Linked DNA regions of Homo sapiens: regions 2 and 3 are each linked to region 1. Evidence: promoter capture Hi-C in 16 types of primary human blood cells and fetal thymus (Javierre and others, 2016). All regions are on one chromosome and are shown on one strand. Each heading gives the region's core, a stretch centred on a gene start or on the middle of the fragment in contact. The rest is flanking DNA. Distances are from core to core; before and after follow the strand shown. Region 1 holds the start of ITIH1 (inter-alpha-trypsin inhibitor heavy chain 1). Region 2 overlaps SFMBT1 (Scm like with four mbt domains 1). Region 3 overlaps SFMBT1 (Scm like with four mbt domains 1).

Region 1 (4,339 bases), core at 1,317-3,816:
GCCTCCCACGTAGCTGGGATTATAGGCTCACACCACACTGAAGCAAATTCTCTACCAGGGCTCCCACTCACCAAGTCTCAGCCAAGAGCCAGCATGTGTCCTGGCCACCTACTGTGTGCAGCACCCACCCAGCCCTGATCACAGGGCCTGGTACTCAGTAGGCACTCCAAAAATACTGACCAAATGAAGGTGTACATGCCTGCATCCCTCAACTCAGCCACCACTTAGGTGCCAGCAATAATTCCAGGCCCTCAGGCTGCGCGGGACTTTCTAGTTTACAAAATTACCTGGACATTCAGTACTTCTCGTGATCCCTGTGGCGGTCCTGGGACTCACAGAAACCCCCCGTCTAGCAGATGAGCAAACCGAAGCTCAGAGATAAAGAGGAAGTTAGAGAATTCAGGGAGTTCCCTGCCCAAGAAGAGCACATCAGAGCTCACCCTGAGGGGTTAGTCCCCATCCCTGTGTTCTCAGGCCTGGGTGGTGACACATGGTGGGTGCTCAACCAGTGTTGGGAGCCATGGTGACGGAGAGAGGGGCAGGACCCCTGCCCCGGGACCTGTGATCTACCTCAAAATGATGCACCAGCTGCTTGGGCTTGACTTTGATGACAATTTCATACTGCATATGGTTTCTCTTCAGCACTTCCTCATAAGTCAGCTGAAACGTGACCTTGCTCTGGGGATTGACGGTGAGGTGGATGGTGAATTGCTCCATAGTTCTCCCCGAGGCCCTGGATGTGCCACCAGAGGCAACAGCAGACAGACAGAGGGTAAATGACATTTGGGTCCTTGTCACCTAACATGTGGCCCACAGAATTTATTTCTCTTAGATGAGTGTTGCTCCCAGGTTTCCCTGGACCTCACAAATGTGTTAGCTGGCTGGTCAGGGTCAGGGCCCAAGATGGCGGGGGCCCACTTCTCCCAGTGGCATATCTGGGAAAAGGGCAACTGCACGGCAGCCTGTTCAGTGCACCGTGCTGGCATCTGGGTTTGGGCAGTTTGCTTACCCTTCCATCATCCTGGGCTGTTCTCCACTAAAGCCACCTTGCAGCCATCAGACCTGTCCTGGCTGGGGAGGGCAGCCCTAGAGATGAGACCAGCAGGCCCAGAACTCACCTGACAAGGCCGGCATTCTCTCCTGAGATAGCTGCTTTCCGGTACTGCTTCCATGCAGTCACCTTGTCCTTTATGTCTCCGATAAATGCGTTTCCATCTGCTGTACTGCAGGGAGGGAAGGACACCCTCAGGAAAGATGAGCCTCCTGACCACACAGGTCCTGAGAGGGCCTGTCCATGTGAGCCCTTGGATAAGGACGTCTCCTGACGAGCCTTCCACTGCCCATGGTGGAACTCAGGGGTCCATGGGCAATGAGGTGAGCAGCCCAGGTCAGAGGCCAGCAAGAAGCCTCAGACTCTGGCCTTGGCTCCTTGGGTTCTAGCCTGAAACATGCTGTGATGGGTCCCAGTTTGCCTCCAAGATGGGAGCCAAGCACAGACCTAAAGGGCTTCTTCCTCCCCTCAAAGCCAGGGCTGGTCTGTGGCCCTTCTAGAATGAGGAGATGCTCTGCGTTATCTGGCCACTCCGATCCTTGTTCTTAAGCTGGGACTAGTAAGCGGCACCCCTGGGAGAAGGCATGGGAGTTGGGCAGGCACGCACACGGCAAAGTCACTGATGAATGCTGTCTTGGGGATTTCCAGGTCGAAGGCCACTTCCCTGGCTTCATTGGCAGTGTTGACCACTTGGCTGGTGACAACATAGTGGGCGAAGCGAGAGGTGACTTTGCAGTTGACTTTCAAACTCCGGATGAACACGCCATCGACAGCCTAAAGTGAGACATGAAGGAGCTGTGGCCTGAGACAGGGCCTCTGTCAGCGAGGGACTTCCTGTGGTACGGGGACTTGGCACTTAGCCCCAGTGCATGGTGCCCAGATGCAGGAAGAACAGACCGCAGGAAGACCCCTGCTCTCTGGCTGAGACCGTGCTGTGGGATATGAGGTGAGATGGGAACAAGTCCCCATTTCTAGGACCCTGGAGAGTACCCCATGCCTATGGCCCTGATAGAGGGGTCCACCCCTGACAGGTTGGGGAAAGCAAGCCTGTAAAAAGGGCTCTGTCACAGACCCCTTTGCCAGGACTCTTACTCACGGTGTCCACAGCCTGTCGCTTCTGCAAAACAAAATCAGGGTCAAGTGTGAGAGGAAAACTCAGGGGACCACCGGCCTGCCAGTTCAGGGATGGGAGTGGAACACAGCCTGTGTCCTCTGCCCCTTAGCTTCACCTCCTTGGTGGTGCTGGGAGGTCACCTCTCCACTCAGAAGTGGTGGAGGTGGTGGGGGTGACCCTGGCCCCTTGAATGGGGGTCTTGTGTCCCGCCCGGGGCCTCATCCAGGTTCAGCTGCCTATTTCTGCCCTGTGGGCTTAGCCATATACCTCGCTGCTCTTGGACCTGCCTGTAGCCGAGCCCAGGGCAGGCATGGCCTGCAGGATGAGGAGAGATACCAGGTACATGCACAACAGCAGCCCCCGAGGCCCCATGGCACCGTCCATGCTCTAAGGCTCCTGCTGCCCTGTCACCTCAGTCAGACCAGTAATCAATACAGTGCTGGATAAACATGGATTAAACATTAGACAAGGTGCAGGCAAATATTAATGACAAAAACCGCAATGACTTTTGCATCAACCTAACACATTTAGAGGAATCAAAATTTGGCAGTGGAAGCTTTTTGCCTCAGGGGGGTTCCCAGCTCTGGGTGGTTAAACTACTGATGGGGCTCCAGACCATGTCCCTCTGTGTAGAACTGCGCTTAGCCTATGTGAACTGTGAGGATCCCCGGATGGCTCATCTCATCCTCGGGCTGGCACAAGGCAGCACCAGTGACACGGTGACATGTGGCAAGAAGCAACAGTTAAAAATGGATTTCTAAACTTCATTAGGCTTTACTTTTTTTTTTTTGAGATGGAGTTTTGGTCTTGAGTGCTAGAGTGCAGTGGCAGGATCTTGGCTCAGTGCAACCTCCACCTCCTGGGTTCAAGTGATTCTCCTGCCTCAGCCTCCCGAGTAGCTGGGATTACAGGTGCACACCACCATGCCCAGCTAATTTTTGTATTTTTAGTAAAGACGGCTTCACCACATTGGCCACGCTGGTCTCGAACTCCTGACCTCAGGTGATCTGCCCGCCTCAGCCTCCCAAAGTGCTGGGATTACAGGAGTGAGCCACTGGGCCCGGCCAGGCTTTACTTTCAAATTTCTTTTTTTTTTTTTTTTTTAAGACAGGGTCTCCCTCTATCGCACAGGTGGAATACAGTGGTGCGATCTTGGCTCACTGCAGCCTCGACCTCCCAGACTCAACTGATCTTCCCACCTCAGCCTTCTGAGTACCTGGAACCACAGGAATGTGGCACCACACCCAGCTGATTATTTTTATTTTTTGTTGAAACAGGGTTTCAGTCGGGCGAGGTGGCTCATGCCTGTAATCTCAGCACTTTGGGAGGCTGAGGGAGGCAGATCACTTGAGGCCAGAAGTTCCAGCCCAGCCTGGGCAACATGGTGAAACCCCATCTCTACCAAAAATACAAAAATTAGCCAGGTATGGTGGCATGCGTCTGTGGTTCCAGCTACTCAGGAGGCTGAGGCAGGAGAATAGCTTGAGCCTGGAAAGTGGTGGTTGCAGAGAGGCAAGATTGTGCCACTGCACTCCAGCCTGGGTGACGGAGCGAGACTGTCTCCAAAAAGAAAGAAAGAAAAGAAAAGAAAGAGAGACAGAGAAAGAAAGAACAGAAAAGAAAAAAGAAAAGAAAAGAAAAGAAAAAAGAAAAGAAAGGGAGGGAAACAGGGTCTCACTTTGTTGCCCAGACTGTTTCAAAATTCTTTCAGCATCAACACACTTTTCAGTCATGCTTTGGCCAGGGAGGCAGACACGGTGGCTTAGAAAGTGTGTGACATCCAGCCATGCTGGTGATTCTCACAGTGCTAACCTGGTATTAGCTCTGTCAGAGACAGTCTGGACGGTCGGGGTGAGGCATGATGGGAGATCTGCGCTTTAGGCCAGTTGCTTCACCTCTCTGAGGTTCTTACCCAGTTCTAGAAAGAACAGAAGTGAGCTTCCTCGTTCCTGCACCTGGGCAGGGAGGCCTGGCAGATAAAGGGGAGCTGAAGATGAATGACATGTTTTCATAATCGAGGACTCATTTGTGTCATGCATTCCTCTAAACCCTTTATTGTCTAATTTTATCCTCGCAACGTTCCTGGGACACTGGCCCCATACCAAGAGACAGAACAGGGATTCAAACCAGGTCTCTCAGGCTCTAAAGCCCAAGGCCATCATGTAATGACAGAG
Region 2 (4,339 bases), core at 786-3,285, 250 kb before region 1:
ATGCTTTTGAAGCCTAAGGCCTGAATGTATGCTGCTTGTTATGAATTCAGATACTTTGCTTTTGTATTTTCGTTTTGAGAAAATTGCAGCAGCAAGGATTAACAAATTGTATCAATTTCTGTATTTGGGTGGTATTCTTTTGTACATTGGCAGAAATATAGCTAAGTTTTTAAAAGTTGGTTTTTACCTGGGCTACTTGGTAAGGAATTTTAAAAATGCTGCTCCTGTTCTGGCGCAGAATTTCTAAAGAAACTGAGTTTGGAATCTTGAAGCATTCTGTAGTTGAATCTTACAGTGTTGTATATGCCTTTGTAGCCCAAGCTCTTAGTTATTATCCTTCATTAAAAGAACTTCAGAATACCCCTCAGAGAATATATTTATAACCCTTCAATAACGCTCTGCATACTGCCATTTTCTGTAAAATATTTTCCTAAAAAGTGTGACAATTTGTGGTAGTCTATTCTTTTTCTCCCCCATGGTAGTACATTTCTAGCCCATGACTTTTTTTTTTTTTTTTTTTTTTTGAGACGGAGTCTCGCTCTGTCGCCCAGGCTGGAGTGCAGTGGTGCATCTCGGCTCACTGCAAGCTCCGCCTCCCGGGTTCATGCCATTCTCCTGCCTCAGCCTCCCGAGTAGCTGGGACTACAGGCGCCCGCCACCATGCCTGGCTAATTTTTTTGTATTTTTAGAAGAGACGGGGTTTCACCGTGTTAGTCAGGATCTTCTCAAGCTCCTGACCTTGTGATCTGCCTGTCTTGGCCTCCCAAAGTGCTGGGATTATAGGCATGAGCTACCGCGCCCGGCCTAGCCCATAACTCTTGTGACTTGCTCAGAGAGTGTTCACACCAAGCCAGTGACAGGCAGGCAGGTCCCCTCTGAGAGTACTTGTGCACTTCCCTGCAAGGGTTCCCAGCCACGAGTGCTAGACTGGGCGTTTCTGAGTTGTGTTTGCTCTGCTATGGCCTTCTTTCTGCCATTTATTCTGTGTTCTAGCAGGTAATTTTTTTTTAAGATGGGGTCTTGCTATGTCACCCAGACTGGAATGCAGTGACCATACACAGGTATGATCATGATAGCACATTACAGCCTCCAACTCCTGGACTCAAGCTGTTTTCCCATCTCAGCCTCCCGAGTAGCTGGGACTAGTGGTACAAGCATGTGCCACCATGCCCAGCTAGTAAGTAGTTTTGACCCATGAAGGCAGACAAAGAGATGTGACTTGTAGAGTTGAATTTGTGGCAAAGAAACAGTATCACACTGTATGTCAACACACAAGTTTTATGGAACTAAGGTGACTTCAAGAAGTGGTCTGAAAGCGAGGCATGGTGGCTCATGCCTGTAATCCCAGCATTTTGGGAGGCCAAGGCAGGTGGATTGCTTGAGCCCAGGAGTTCGAGACCAGCATGGGCAACATGACAAAACCCTGTCTCTACAAAAAATACAAAAATTAGTTGAGTGTGGTGGTGTGCACCTGTAGTCTCAGCTACTCAGGTGGTTGAGGCAGGAAGATCACTTGAATCTGCCTCCAAGTGAGCTGTGTTCGAGCCACTGCACTCCACCCTGGATGACAGAGCAAGACCCTGTCTCAAAAAGAGTGGTCTGAGAAAAAGAAACAACCGTAGACGTCAGCAGGCAATTAGGGTTAATCAAGTTTTTTGTACTGTGAAAGGCTTTGTAAACAATGGGGTAACCTGGCAAGTTGGACTATCCAAAGTTTAACCCATTTATGCCTACTGTTCCATTACTGGAACGCTAAGCTTGTGGGAGTTATTTATATCATAGTGCTCAAGGTCATCACCAAGGTCTGAGTTTTCACACAAAAAAATTTGCAACCTCCAGCATAAATGGGTTAAAGAACAGGGGGAAGAAACAATGGCTTAAAGGCATGTTTTAATTTCACAGGATTTTAAGAGGAAGCAAATTTCCTGTGGATGATGCCTAACGAATTTACATACGGACTCTGCTTTAGTGACCTTTCTCATTCTTCCATCCATGCCTGTGAAAAAAGGCAGCTGCAGCCTGATTGGCCCATGTGCACACTAGGACTTGTCAGAAATAGCTGACCTCTGGGGCAGATGGTAGGCACTGAATCACTGAATTTCCTTCTCCTGTGAAAATGACAGTATTCCTGGAGGCAGAAATGTTATTGCTGTGTTAAAAAGTTGAATTTTCTCATTAGTGAACTGGAGGTGCCATGATCTGATACCATAGTAATTCATTTAGCAGACACTAAGTAGCTGTGACATGAAGCAGTGGTGCCAGGGGTTTAGGGAATGCAAAATTGAGTAAGTTCCCTGGCCTAGAGAAGCTTATAATCAGGATAGGAAATGATACAGAACTTGTGTTTAAGTGTTGTCAAAAAAGTGTAAAGCGTCTACTATGGAAGGTGTTTTAACGGGGGTGGGGGAATGGGCTAACATTTGTAGAGTTTTGTTTTGAGAAAGGATTTTTTGTAGGAGTAAATGGCAGTGAGTTAGTGATTTGTGAATACTTCTATATTGTATTATTAGTGTAAGAATTTTTAATAAGCTAAAAATTTCAGGTCTTAATAGAGGAAACATCTAGTGTAAAATAAGAAAGTAACCCTGAAATTTTCTTTTGAATTCCCTTCCCTGTTGGGCATGGTGGGTCATGCCTATAATCCTAGCACTTTGGGAGGCCAAGGAGGGAGGATTAGTTGAGACGAGGAGTTTGAGACCAGCCTGGGCAACCTAGCGAGACCCCATCTCTACAAAAAATTGAAAAATTAGCCAGGTGCGGTGGCACGATTGTGTAGTCTTAGCTACTTGGGAGGCTGAACCCAGGAGGTCGAGGCTGCAGTAAGCCGTGATTGCACCATCTTACTCCAGCCTCTCCAGGGACAGGGCAAAACCCTGTCTCTAAAGGAAGAAAAAAAATCCCTTCTCAAACCTTTATCTTTAGCGCTGCCTCCTTCTTAAGCTATTATTTAATTTTGTTGAGGTTCTTGCCAGCTCTTCCTTTTTGAGAGTGCGGCTAAGAACCAACCACACAGATCTCTGGGCTGTTATATCTAGGACTGTAGGCAGCCCCACAGGGACCTACCTGTAACTGCAGTGAGCAGCTGTGGGGGCACAGGGAGGGAGGGTAAACTCTGTTAACTTGTGGCCATGAACATGCAGCTTGGTAGGAATTCCAGCTATCCTTAAAGGGCCTCAGCCTTTTTACTTTGTATTCTCTGTTGAGTTCCTCTATTTGCTCTTTAATTGCTAAGGAAGACTTACTGTCCTCACTGAGTGGCTACGTGTGAGTCGTTTGCTGTCTTGACTTATGGTTTTGTGTGTTTTTAGAATCTTTCCTTTCTAGTACAATAAAATATTTTTATTATTTTAAAAATTAAACTGATTTTGGTAGAATGCTAGGAAAGGGACCAAAAATTTAGTTCATGTTAACTTACTGGAGAATTTTGGTGGGATAGCAGGTTTTGAAGAGATGAAGTGCCTTTTTATTACAGCTTATTACTTTACTGTTGATACTTGTAAGCTGTTACTTGAGACATAAGCATTACTGTGGCAGTTTGTGTTTTCATGTAGTGATGTTTATGGTGTTAATATTTTTTCAGATAATTAATTTTGCTTTTAATAATTTAAAACTACACTTTCTGTAAAGTGATCAGTTGCATTTGGGGGTAGAACTTTTTCTGAAGCAATGTGCTTACATCACTTAACCCATCCATTTGCACGCAATATTAGCTCTTCAAAACACAGCCCAACACTGAGAGAAAGCAAAATCAGTTTTCAAGTGCTGACAATAATTGTTATAAAGCTCCCGCACCAAAGCTGATGTATGGTTCTTAACTGTTTTCCAGCCTTCCGTGTAGATCAGACACCATCAGCTGGGAGCAAGATGAGTAGAGATTGTTAGGGCTGCATAGTGGAGGCAGCAGTCAGCAAAGTCCAGCATCACACCTGGGCTGGGTATAGTTGCTCTTTAGAGAGGCTAGAGTTACCAAGGCAAAGATGAAGTATGTTTAGGAGTCTCTGTTTTAAGAAGATAGGGAAGTAAAAATATATTCTAGAAATATTTCCATCACAGTGTTGAATTTCTTTTTTTTTCTTTTTTTAAGACGGGGTTCACTCTGTCACCCAGGCTGGAGTGCAGTGGCACAATCATGGCTCACTGAATCATCTACCTCCTGGGCGCAAGTGACCTCTCACCTCAGCTTCCCAAGTAGCTGGGACCATAAGCGTGTGCCACCATGCCTGGCTAATTTTTAAATTTTTAAAATTTTTTGTAGAGACAAAGTCTCCCAACATTGCCCAGGCTGGTCTCAAATTCCTGAATTAAAGTGATCCCTCCACCTCAGCCTCCCAAAGTGTTA
Region 3 (4,339 bases), core at 593-3,092, 140 kb before region 1:
GAAACAATTCTGTATATAGCAAATTCTATAACTACCTAAACCTTTGTAACTATGTGGGTAATAAAACTAACAACAGAAGTGGAGAGAAAGGCCATAGACATTTATACCAAGTAGAGAAGTGAGGTAACAATGAAAAAAAAGACTGACCTTGGATTTTTCCTTGACTTAGTTGCCAAAACTGATCCAAAGCTTTAGTTAGGATGCATTCTAAAAGATAAATTAGCCTTTTTTCAGTGATTGCTACATACAGAATAAGCCTCTGTTTTTTTTTAAATAACATAATTTGTCTTTAATTTGAAAACTGATGGACGAAGAAAACGAACCCTATATAAAGTTTCTGTTCTTTGACTGTTGAAAAATGAGTAGTTTATTTGTGATTTAAGCATCTCACAAGAAATTTTGTAATTTTTTTGCCCAGTGAATGAAGAGAAAGTTTGAACATGTAGTATCACAATGCTATATACAGACTGTCCATTGGCTCATTATGCCCTATATATAGTTTTAAAAACAATTGTTCTTTTTTGTTGTTGTAGTTTTTTGTTGTTGTTGTTGTTGTTGTTGTTGTTTGGTTTTTTTGACACAGAGTCCTGCTTTGTTGCCTAGGCTGGAGTGCAGTGGCACGATCTCGGCTCACTGCAAGCTCTGCCTCCTGGGTTCACGCCATTCTCCTCCCTCAGCCTCCTTAGTAGCTGGGACTACAGGTGCCTGCCACCATGCCCAGCTAATTTTTTGTATTTTTAGTAGAGACGGGGTTTCACAGTGTTAGCCAGGATGGTCTCAATCTCCTGACCTTGTGACCCGCCCACGTCAGCCTCCCAAAGTGCTGGGATTACGCGTGAGCCACCGCATCCAGCCTTGTTCTTTTAAAAAAAAAAAAAAAAAAAAAAAGTATCATCAAGGGAGTACCTTCTGTTACAGATTTTGCGAACATGCCACATTTGCTTTCTTCTTAGATTTGAAGGAAACTAAGCCTCACACTTTACTGATCTTAAGAATTATCTCACTATTTTACTGTGTTTTCTTGACCCAGAGTACCATCCTCGAGGACTGTCCACGAGGGCCTGAGGAATCAGGAGCTGAACTCCACAGAGTCAGGTATAAGCACATGTCATCTTAAGGAAAAGAAGACTTAGTTTCTTTTAATGGACTATATCTGAAAATAACTTAAAACAGTACATTTGATGTATAGTATGTGTCTTCATAGAGGGGTCTCTTAATTGTGACTTTAGAGTTATAACTGTCTAAGATGTGTTTAGTTTAATAATCATCTCTAGGCTGATAGTTCCGTCCATTTCTAATAATTGTAGCTATTCTTTACTGATCAACCGTTGTGTGCCAACGGCTCAGAAGGCCAATGTTACCATCCTTGACTTTAGCTAAAGAACCTGAAGTTTTCCAGGCAGTGTTCTTTCTTAAGCTAGATGGTTGAGAGGTAGAAGTTTATTCTTTTTAAAACCCTTTTTTATGATATGCATACTTTGTATATAAATTTCACAGTTTATGTGAAAAAAATAAAGCAATGGAAAAAGAAATTGTCCCAGAGGCAATTAATGCCTGATAAATGAGAGAAAAATCCTTGCTGGAGGTTCAAGCCTTTTGTCCAGGGTCCTCTCTTGAACTATTCTTAACTTCCACGTGCTTGTTGTGTAATGTTTAGCATCCTGGCTGTGTGTATTCTAGCACAGATTGCGCATTTGGGTGATATTTAGTAAATGCCTAGAAGAGAAATCGAAGCTCAGAGAGATCACACAGCTTATGAGTAGAAAGACCAGAAATGAAACTGAAGTCTTTCACAAATTAGAAACCCGTACTTCCGTCTCTTGTACCTACTGCCTTTTCATTACATCATTTGTACATAGAGGGTTAGGACTGTGTAACTCCTTGCTTTTGATGCTTTCCTGGCCATTCGAATGCCTACTGAAACCACAGAATTTAAGACATTAATATCTTCTGCACAACCTCAGCCAAGGCCTTTTGGTTTGGGTTTTGTCATAGGTCAGGTTCCCTGGGAAACAGAGTCTGAGACTCTGACATATGCATTCAGGAGTTTCATTGGGGAGTATTTTTGGGAACAGCTCCTTAGAAGGAGTAAAGGAAGTAGGATTGGGCAGAGAGATAAGTTGAACCATGATGCAGTTGCAACAGAAGTTTCTTCTAGTTCCACTGGGAGCCCTGAAGCTGATCTAACCACTCAGAGTTGATCCTAATTCAGGTGTGGTGGCCACACTTTACTGACCAGTTATTGGAAGTAAGCCACTGCTCCCTCCCCACCTCACAAGGGGCAAGGTGGCCCTCTCCTGCTGAGAGCAGTACCCAGTTCAGGGTGATTCCAGAATAGACATAAAACTGGGAACTGTAAGCTGCCAACATACCCAGCAGCAGGGGTATGAGTGCCTTAATTCTGAAAAGAGGCATTTGGGTTGCAGGGTTCAACTGGAAATGTGAGCACCAGCATACTGGCCACTATGATAGACCATCGTTTTTTTGTTTTGTTTTGTTTTGAGACAGGGTCTCGCTGTGTCATCCAGGCTGGAGTGCAGTGCAGTGATATCAGCTCACTGCAACCTCCACCTCCTGGGCTCAAGCTGTCCTCCTACATCAGCCTCCCGAGTAGCTGGGACTACAGGCATATGCCACCACATGTGGCTGATTTTTTTGTTTTTGTTTTTGTTTTTGTTTTTTGTAGAGATGGGGCTTCACTGTGTTACCCAGGCTGGTCTCAAACTGGACTCAAGCGATGTGCTCCCCCGTTGGCCTCCCAAATTGCTGGGATTACGGGCATGAGCCACAACACCTGGCTGTGACTATTCTTAATTAAAGAGAAAACATTATGAACTGCAGGATCCTATCAACAATGGGCAGTGTGCGCATATCTTTCCTTAACATTGGATTAACAGGCATATCTATTAGAAGAGCTTCTCTGTGCTTTATAGCAGTATTTTAGTGTCTTTGAATTTTTTACATTCAACAGCTGACATGCCTACCACTATGAGGGGATTTTTTAAAAACATTAAATTGAAGGACAGTATTGATACAGACAAATAGTTGAAGAAAAGGGTCTCCAGACCCAGTTATACCCCACAGTACAAAAAAAACTTAGAGATGTGGTCACAGCATACTTTTAGCCCTCTGAGAAATCTCAGAGATGGGATTGCTCTCACAACATCAAAGGCTGCCAACATATTAGTTTGGTGGTTTTTAGGAGACAAACTAATTCTCAATAATATTCAACAATTTCTATAAATATTCCAGAATAGATGATTGAAAGTTGGTTTTTGAAGACCTGGAAAAGAAATCATTGATCATCCAGAATCCTCATGTGTTCTTAAAATACACCCTCCACTTTCTTTATTAATAGAAGATAGGGTTCTTCTATCAATTTTGCAGTAACCTAGGAACTAATCAGCATGTTAATTCAGGACCCTCTTTGATTTCAGCAGAGTGATAAGCTCTGTAAGTTACTTAAGAGCATTCTCAGACAACATGTTAAGCTTCAAAATAAGTAATTCCAAACTTTATATTAATATAATGGTACATGTGCTTCGTTTTTCTTCCCTGGCAGTTCAGCTTTGGAAACGTGGGGTAGAGAATGACTGTTTTGAATATTTGTTTTTCTTCATTTCCCAGTTATGATTAATGGAAAATATTGCTGTCCAAAGATATACTTCAACCACCGTTGCTTCTCAGGGCCATATCTTAACAAAGGAAGAATTGCTGAGCTGCCTCAATGTGTAGGACCTGGGAACTGTGTTCTGGTCCTTAGAGAGGTAAGGTTCTGGCCTAGAGCAAAATAACTTGGAAATTTCACAGCATTCTCCTATGGTCATTTCTACAGGGAGCCACATGCCATAGATGTGACAGTTCTAGGTTTTATCAAAAGTTACTAACTTTTCTCATGTTTTGGACAGTGAAGAGGGTATGTAATTATTTCTCCTCCCTAGGAAACATTCACGTAAACAACTCTTCACACAGCAGGTTCACCTCTGTCAGGGTAGAAAGGTCTTCTGTCAGAGACCAGAAGAGAACTATACAAAAGTGAACTGTGAGGTTACTCTATGACTGAAAGGCCGTGGCTATGTGGCATTAACCTAGCGACCGTGATAAAGCTACACATCTGCTGGGCTTTCTGTTCTTCCCAGCCAGTGTGATATGCTGCAAGTAACAGATAAGAGACCTTTCAGCCCTCAGGGTGGCAAGTCAGGATCTGGGGAAGCCAGAGCGTCTGGACCAGACTCCTCCAGCCACAAGAAGGCTCAGCTGTCTACACAGTGGTCCAAACAAATATAATTTTCTGTGTGTACCGTGGCTGGGAAAGCATTTGGAAGCATGTTCTGGAGCA

What was found. Contacts are between HindIII fragments. The CHiCAGO score rates a contact against its expected background, and 5 or more counts as called.
Region 2: a contact is called between a fragment that was not itself captured here and the fragment with the promoter of ITIH1 in region 1, in 1 of 17 cell types (endothelial precursors). The highest score is 5.2, in endothelial precursors.
Region 3: a contact is called between a fragment that was not itself captured here and the fragment with the promoter of ITIH1 in region 1, in 1 of 17 cell types (M0 macrophages). The highest score is 5.0, in M0 macrophages.

The regions. Positions count from the first base shown.
Region 1 is chr3:52,775,826-52,780,164 of GRCh38, reverse strand. It overlaps ITIH1 (inter-alpha-trypsin inhibitor heavy chain 1), which reads right to left and starts at 2,566. Exons shown (of 22, transcript NM_002215.4): 1 at 2,433-2,566; 2 at 2,148-2,168; 3 at 1,659-1,825; 4 at 1,119-1,223; 5 at 571-733. The coding sequence starts at 2,549. RefSeq lists enhancers at 460-749, 734-1,933. The HindIII fragment of the contact is 3,325 bases long and covers 1-2,723 here.
Region 2 is chr3:53,025,357-53,029,695 of GRCh38, reverse strand. All of the region lies in intron 1 of SFMBT1 (Scm like with four mbt domains 1), which reads left to right. Among named protein-coding and RNA genes, the nearest start is that of SFMBT1, 19 kb to the left of the region's middle. The HindIII fragment of the contact is 551 bases long and covers 1,760-2,310 here.
Region 3 is chr3:52,912,906-52,917,244 of GRCh38, reverse strand. SFMBT1 (Scm like with four mbt domains 1) reads left to right here. Exons shown (of 21, transcript NM_016329.4): 14 at 1,031-1,095; 15 at 3,628-3,767. Among named protein-coding and RNA genes, the nearest start is that of STIMATE-MUSTN1, 18 kb to the right of the region's middle. The HindIII fragment of the contact is 3,302 bases long and covers 192-3,493 here.